2 separate regions of the Homo sapiens genome follow, and region 1 is linked to region 2. Evidence: promoter capture Hi-C in 16 types of primary human blood cells and fetal thymus (Javierre and others, 2016). All regions are on one chromosome and are shown on one strand. The core of a region is centred on a gene start or on the middle of the fragment in contact, and the rest is flanking DNA. Distances in the headings are between cores, read along the strand shown. Region 1 has its middle 34 kb from the start of GNG13. Region 2 holds the start of TPSD1 (tryptase delta 1).

Region 1 (3,858 bases), core at 1,199-3,698, 420 kb after region 2:
CCCTCTGTGGGGGGGGTTACCTGGGGAGAGGCATGAGGAATGTTCAGGGTGTTGTTCTGTCTTGACCAAGGAGTGTTCTGTCTTGACCGAGCTGTGGGTTACTGGTGTCACATTTGTTAAAACTCATCCAGTTATAACCTAAAATATGTGCATTTTATGTTAGCGGTTGAGGACTCACCACTGCAAACCCTGCAGGCTCCATTTGGGGAGGCCCCCCTACATGTGGCTACTGTGCCCATAGCTGCCCAAGCAAAGGCCCCACGAGGACCTGGGCCTGTTGGTGCAGAGCCCTGTGAAGCGGAGGCTGCACCCCCAATAGGGCAATACCCAGCACCACCCCCATTACAGACCTTCCAGACCACCCTAGCATGTTCTCACACATGCTCAAAGAGAAAAGGCATCTCTCATCTTCGAGTGTTCCCTGTTCACCCTCTTTCCTTAATTTGCCTTACATGGTCACCCCTGAAAAGCCCCTTCTGAGCTATCCTTCCCTCCAGGTCCCAGAGATGCACAGCTAGGCACCCACAGGCCGCAGGCAGCTCCCGCCCAGATGATCCTCGGTGCTCCAGCACAGGGCCTCAGGCTGAGGTGTGGGGAGAAGTGTCCAGCCATGCAGCTGTGTGGCTGGTAACTCACCCCACTATTCCCAGGGGCTCAGAAGGGGACAGACGGTCTCAAGAGACAGGTCGGCCATCGCTGCACAGTGGGGGAGGCCACAGCTCTGTGTCCCAGACAAACGCCCAGCACGAAGGTCACACAGCCACCTCACTTGGGCGGGGGGTCGGGGGGGGGGGTCATGCCCAGAAGCAGCCCCTGTGTCTGGCCCAGCCCCTGGCCTGGCCTGGGGTCTGCAGAGCAGGCAGATGCCCTCCCCCTCCCCTTCAGGCCCATCACTTTGTGGGGTCCTCTGAAGCTGGGCCTGAGGGGGCTGCAGCCCCCAGACTGGTTTCCCCCAGTCCAGGCCCTCCTGGAGGCTCATGGCTTGGCACAGGCAGAAACCAGGGAGTTTGTGTGGGGAGGGCAGGGCAGGGCGGGCCACACATGGAAGGGCATCCTCTCTTCCACTCCCCACCTCCCTCCACAACACGAGTCATGCCCATTCCCCAGGCCAGTCTGGTCCCACAGGCCCAGGGTCACAGTCCACATGGAGTCTGGACAGCCATTTAATTTGGTGAGGGACGTGAGGATGGGATTTTGCCCCTACTAAAGACAAGTCTGTAATAATACGGCCACAAAAGTTCTAGAAGAAACCATTTTGCTACCCATGGTGACTCAGGCAAGGACCACCAAGGGGGCGAACTGTTTGGTGACAGGTAATAGGAATCGGAGACCACAGGGCAAGAGGAGCCCAGCCTGGGCCCATCACAGGGACAAGTGCAGCTGTGGTGTCGGTGGAACAATGCAGAGACGCAGACACAGCACCCAACAGAGGAGCCGGCTGAGGGTGCTGGGTGGAGACTGTGGGCTGAACTCCCAGCCCACGGGAAACTCAAGGAGTGAGGAATGAGGCAGACGGCACAGACGAGCTGGCTGAGGGTGCTGGGTGGAGACTGGGCTGAACCCCCTCAACCCCAGCCCACAGGAAACTCAAGGAGTGAGGAATGAGGCAGACGGCACAGGAAAGCATCAGGCGTATCAAAATGCCAAACTTCTGCCAAGACAACCAGGCTGGTACACAGGCCCCGCGAGCCACTATCCCTCAGTGGGAAATTTGAATTCTCCAACTTTGTTCCTTTTCAAGATGATTTTGGCTCTCTGCCATCTCTTGCAATTTGATATGAACGTTACAGTCACCTTGTCCATTTCTGCACACACAAAAATCAGCTGGGATTCTGATACGGATTGTGTTGAATCTGTAGATCAATTTGGGAAGTATTCTCATCTTAGCTATATTAAGATTTCCTATCCATGAACATGGATGTCTTTGCATTTATTTAGACCTTTCTTTCTTTCCAGTGTAGTTCCAGTGTACAAGTCTTGCACTTCTCTTGTTAAATTAATTTTTTTTTTGAGACAAAGTTTCACTCTTGTTGCCCAGGCTGGAGTGCAATGGCATGACCTCAGCTCACTGCAACCTCCACCTTGCAGGTTCAAGCGATTCTCTTGCCTCAGCCTCCCGAGTAGGTGGGATTACAGACCTGCGCCACCACACCCAGCTAATTTTTGTATTTTTAGTAAGACGGGGTTTTGCCATGTTGGCCAGGCTGGCCTCCAACTCCTGACCTCAAGTGATCCACCCACCTCAGACTCCCAAAGTGCTAGGATTACAGGCGTGAGCCACCACGGCCAGCACAGATTCGTGTTTGAATGCATGCACCTGTTCACTAATTCACTGGATTTGTTCTCTAATGGGAGTGTCCCCACGTCGGGAGACGCTGAAGTATTTACAGTCACAGTGTCTGCTGCTTTCTTCAAAACGGTGGGCAGAAAACACAAAGGCATGTGCGTAACGTGTAAAACACATATGGGCAAGTTGCCGAAATGGCTGACCCTGGGCCTGGGTGTGTGGATGTTCTCCGGGCTATTCAGCCTTTGCTTGAAAACCTTCAAGTCACACAGCTGCCAGGAGGTCATCACGTTGGCGTGACCCCTCCCCTAGACCCGGCCAAGGCTCTGGCTGAGATGACCTGGACGGTGCCCTCGGCTCAGGCACAGCTTGGGGAGGCTGCTTCTCCGGGAGAGGCGCCGGGGCTGCTGTCCCCAACCCAGCCTCCCCATGTGGCTGCCCTGGGCTGTCCGCTCGACGGCCCCCTTGCTGGGGCAGAACCTTCTCTACCATGGAGCAGGTGCCTTTGTCCATGGGCTCCCGGGCATGAGCCCCCTGCTCTCCCCCATCCAAGACGCAGACCCCAACCCAAGCCACTGTTCCAGGAATAAAGAGGCAGCCACTGCAGACTACAGGGATTTGTGAGCGAGATTGGTGGGATGGGTGATGGTGAGTGGAACACCCCTTCTCCCTACTTCCAGCCTCCTGCCTCGCACCCCCTCCCCTCGCCCCTCCTGGCCATGCTGCCCCACTCAGCCTCACGCAGCCTGGCCACATTGTCCCAACGCTGTCCTTTCAGAGTAGGGAGTAATGTTCAGCCCGACCCCGGTTCCCCGTGCCCTGAGTCCCCCACAGTTCCTCACAGTCCCCGTTAACAAGCACACTTGCAGGGGGCGGCCGTACACACGCAGAGCCCTTGCTGCCATGACAGGGCCAGCCCAAGAGGCGGGGGCTGCAGCCACTGCTCTCATGAGGGTGGCAGGAGATGCCAGCCCGGAGCCAAAGTGTCCGGAGCGGCTCACAAAAGGTAGCTCACAGGGGCGCCGCCCCGACACCGTGATCCACCCAGCTGAGCTCCCTTGTGATGGCCGTAAATTTTTATGAGCGCTAAAACAGCTGGGGCCTCACCTCGCCAGGGAACAGACTCAGAGCAAATGCTGGAGGTGACTGTCCTCCTGTTCTCGGAGCTGCCATGAAAAGCCTCTGCCACAGGGTGGATGGGGCGGAGCGGGGCGGGGCGGGGTGGCGGATGGGCTGAGGATCCACAGGGTGGACGGGGCGGGGCGGGTGCTACTGCTCTGACCTCCTGGACAGAGACGGCGAGGACAGGGCACCGGCTGGGGGCAGAGGCTGCTGTGACAGCCGTCCTGTCTCTGTCCTGCAGCCAGCCCTCCTGGCTCCGTCAGATCAGCTCCTTTCAAAGCCCAAACATCCCACAGCTAAACCTGGAGGGGGGCGCAGTGGCTCACACCTGTTGTCCCAGCACTTTGGGAGGCTAGGCCAGGAGGATCACTTGAGCACAGCGAGCCACGATCTTACCTGTACTTCAGCCTGGACAGCAGAGTGAGACCCAGCTCTAAAAAAAAGAGAGA
Region 2 (4,192 bases), core at 1,175-3,674:
GGCTTCTTGGGGACATAGTGGTGGATCCAGTCCAAGTAGTAGGTGACACGGGTGTAGATGCCAGGCCGGTTGGGCTGGGCACAGCTCTCCTCCCAGCTGACCACGCCCGCCTGCAGTTAGGTGCCATTCACCTTGCAGACCAGGGGCCCTCCAGAGTCACCCTGGGAAGGTCAGAGGTCAGTGCTCGCTGGCCAGGCTTCGGGGGTCAGGATGAGGGATGCGCTCGCTGGCCAGGCTCCGGGGATTGGGGTGGGGGACGCGAGGGCCCACCTGGCAGGAGTCGTGATTTTCGCTCCCCGCACACAGCATGTCATCGCGGACGATTTGAAAGCTGTGGCCCGTATGGAGGCCGGTGTGATATTCCGCGTTGCAAAGGTGGTTTTCCACTACGGGGACTTCCACCTCCTTCAGCGGGTATGGCGGCGGCAGGTGCACTGGGGGCGGAGGGGGGCGTGGAGCCGGGTCTGGGGCCGGCTGGGTGCTGCTTCGTGGACTTGGTGGCAGAGTCACGGGCAGGGGAGATGGCACCATGGGCCCAGTGCTGTTCTGTGCCTGCAGCCCCGGGGAAGGGGCGGTGAATGCAGTCCAGGCCCCTCCGCTGAGGCTGGTCCTGGGTCCCTGGCCTCATTTAAGCCCCATCTGGGGAAGGGAGGGGAGGGCCCTGGAGGTTGCCAAGCTGGGCTCCATGGCACGGGGGTGCAGAGCCCGACCCGTGTCTCCCCCTGGGCTCAGCTGACTTTCGTCTGGGCTAGGCCCATGGTCCACGGTTGGCCCTAGCCGAGGGGAACACAGGGCGCTGGGCTCAGCTTCCCCGCTGTGTGGGGCGGAATAGCGGGACAGTGGCTCAGGCCCCTTCTGAGTGACCCAGAGGTCACAGCCCAGGGTTGCCGCTCAGGCTGTACCCCAAAGCTTTGCTCTGAATTGTGGATAAAATGGGGACAAGACCTTCTAGAAGTGAAAATGTGCCTCGTGGAGGGCCACAGTGAGCTTCGTCCAGCCCCCCACAGCACTGCCACGACCCCGATTCCCAGGCCCCTGCCTTGTCTGTAGCACAGGGATGGAGGGCAGGCAGGTCTCATCCCAGCACCGGTCTCTCTCCTTCCAGCAAGACCCCCGTGTGATTTCTCTCTCCACATAGCAAGTCCGTGACGTACAAACTTTTGATGCACCCTTTCAGGCAAGGGGAAACCGAGGCACGGAGGTGCTAAGGGACTCTCCAAACCCCTGGGGTGGGGGACGCCCAGGCCCTTTGGACTCACCGTCTCTGCTCAGGGCACCTGCTGCCTCTCGCCACCGCCTGCTCCATCCATCCTGGCCTCCACAGTCCCCCTCCCTGAGCCGCCCTGAGGGACCCTGTCACCCCACGGACTGGCCTGTGGCTGTGACTTGGTGCCCACCTGGCCCGGCCTCCCGCTGTCCCCAACACCCACCATTATTGTCCACGTCGCCCCAGCCAGTGACCCAGCACGGCATCCCCGGGGGGAAGGTCTCCGAGGCAGGGGGCAGCGTGACCGTGTGGATGTGGCTGGAGATGTTCACGGGCTCCTCCAGCTCCAGCAGGGCGATGTCCGCCCCGGTCTGGATGATGTAGAACTGTGGGTGCACGATGATCCTGCTGACCGGCAGCAGCTGGTCCTGGTAGTAGAGGTGCTGCTCCCGCAGTTGCACCCTGAGGGCGGCCAGATCCTTGATGTCCCTGGGCAGCGGAGGATCCCACTCAGGGCCCTGGGCAGCCCCCAGGAGCACCCGGGAGCCAGGGCTCACATCCAGCCCTTGCCCACCCCTCCAGGCCCCAGGAGACTCACGGTTCCACGCAGTGCGCCGCGGTTAGCACCCACTGGGGGTGGATGAGGGAGCCCCCGCAGAAGTGCATCCAGTATGGGCCGCGGACTCTCAGGCTCACCTGCCAGGGCCACTTGCTCCTGGGGGCCTCCTGCCCCCCAACAATGCCCGTTTGCTGCAGGGCCTGGCCTGGGGCTGGGGCAGGTGCCAGGTCAGGACCAAGAAGCCGCCCCACGCCTGGGACCAGCCCTTCCCTGTGTGGGGGCCAGCCCGGCCTCCCCAGAACCCACCCAGGCCCTGATCTGTGGAATGTGGTGAGGGGCAGGGTGGACCCCGGCTGGGACTCACCAGGGGCCACGTAGGCCGGGCTCGCCAGGACGGGCAGCGCCAGCAGCAGCAGGCTCAGCATCTGGGGAGCAAGGAGGAGCATCGTGGGCCTGGCCGGGCCTCACAGGGCAGGGCTGGGGGCTACAGATTGTGGGGTGAAGAATGGAGCTGGGACGGGGGGACCGGGGTGGGTCCAGGCCTGCGGGCCTGGGTCTTGGTGCTCTGAGTCTGAGGCTGGGCCACTCTGCTCCAGGTGACGCTGATGTCAGGGTCTCTGAGAGTAGGGACTTACCCTGGCCACTCCCTGTTCCTTCTACCCAGCGGGCTCTCCCCTCCCCATTTATGCTTCCAGATCAGGAGGGGGCGGAGGAGGGGCGCTGGGTCCTCCCATCCAGACTCGGAGGAAGTGGATGACTCAGACCCAGGGCCCCCGTGTAACACATGCCCCCGCCACCCCGATGCCCTCTGTGTGTGGGGCTGCCAGGCAGGCCCCGCCGAGGGCTGAGCACTGGAGGCTCGCAGCTCCACCTGTCAGCTGGTGGATCCCAGCACTGGAACCCACCACCTTCCCGCTGGTGGGATCTGCTCCTGCCCCTGTCTCGGTGCCAGGAGGCCTTCAGGCATAGCTGCACCCAGGTGGCCTGGCTGCCCCAGGCTACAAGACCCGTCGCTCCTGAAACCTGTTTCCCCAAGAGGGACACGGGGTGAGGAACTCATGTCCATGGGCCACCCTCCAAGAGACGGGAAGGTGCCCACGGGGTGGGGACATGACGGGTGACACCCCTCCTACGGACTCCGAATCCACGGGGGTGGGGCCAGCCCTCCTCGACTCACTTGGTTGGGGGCTCACATGAGACCCCTTTGTCAGATGGGGAAACAGCCTTGAGAGGGGACAGCACCAAGTGTCCTCAGCCAGGAAGGGGCCCTGCTCCCCACCTCCCGTATGAGACCCAAGTCCTCCAACGATTCCTCAATGTCCACCTCTGGGGCTGTCCGTGCAGGTCCCCTGGTCTGCAGGTGCCTTCTTATCATGGGATCTGAGCTTCATCCGCAGAGGGAAGGGCAGACAGGAGTGCAGGTGCAACCCCAGGAGACCCAGCCCAGCTCCCCATGGACTCACCCCCAGCCCCAGCCCAGCTCCCCATGGACTCACCCACAGCCCCAGCCCAGCTCCCCATGGACTAGTCCCAGCCCCAGCCCCAGCTCCCCATGGAGTAGTCCCAGCCCCAGCCCCAGCTCCCCATGGACTCACCCACAGCCCCAGTCCAGCTCCCCATGGACTCACCCCCAGCCCCAGCCCAGCTCCCCATGGACTCACCCCCAGCCCCAGCCCAGCTCCCCATGAACTAGTCCCAGCCCCAGCCCAGCTCCCCATGGACTAGTCCCAGCCCCAGCCCAGCTCCCCATGGTCTCACCCCCAGCCCCAGCCCAGCTCCCCATGGACTAGTCCCAGCCCCCGGCCCCAGCTCCCCATGGACTCACCCCCAGCCCCAGCCCAGCTCCCCTTGGTCTCACCCCCGGCCCCAGCTCCCTGTGCTCTCCATCCCATTCAGCGCTGACACTGTCCCTGCAGCTCCGTCCACCCCACCTCCTGACTCACCTGGGCCTGTTGGTCACTGGGGCCTCCAGCCCACCTCCTCTGCTTCTGAGCCCCAGGACCCCCTGCCTGCCCCCCGACCCCCAACACAGGGCCACTCCGGGGCTCCTCCTGCCCCCACCCTGCCTGGGACCAGCCTGGTTTGAGGCTGACTCTGCACTGCGGGGCCATATCCATCTGGACTCCTTCCGGGCTGCACCCCCCGGGGGACAGGCAGGGGTGGCCCAGACCGCTCCTGCTCATGACCCTGCTTCTCCTCCATTCTCTGGACAAACTCCCCAGAGGCCTCCACCTGCCCCGTCCTGGTTCCATGAATGAGGCCCACAAGATGGGACCTTCAGGAGCCCAGGAGGTGAGGGGATGGGGTGACGGGGGACACCAGGGATGAGGGTGTGGCAGGGACACGGGAGACACCAGGGCTGACGGTGAAGAAGAGACTCAGGGGACACCAGGGCTGGGAGAACCCAGGGACACACGGGGACACCG

What was found. Contacts are between HindIII fragments. The CHiCAGO score rates a contact against its expected background, and 5 or more counts as called.
Region 1: a fragment that was not itself captured here is called in contact with the fragment with the promoter of TPSD1 in region 2 in 3 of 17 cell types (M1 macrophages, M2 macrophages and erythroblasts); the score reaches 8.0 in M1 macrophages.

What each region holds. Positions count from the first base shown.
Region 1 is chr16:832,440-836,297 of GRCh38, reverse strand. No RefSeq gene overlaps it. Among named protein-coding and RNA genes, the nearest start is that of GNG13, 34 kb to the right of the region's middle. The HindIII fragment of the contact is 5,308 bases long and covers 1-3,858 here.
Region 2 is chr16:1,254,301-1,258,492 of GRCh38, reverse strand. It overlaps TPSD1 (tryptase delta 1), which reads right to left and starts at 2,424. Exons shown (of 5, transcript NM_012217.3): 1 at 2,131-2,424; 2 at 1,806-1,977; 3 at 1,431-1,696; 4 at 271-434; 5 at 1-161. The coding sequence starts at 2,212. The coding sequence ends at 117. The HindIII fragment of the contact is 7,208 bases long and covers 912-4,192 here.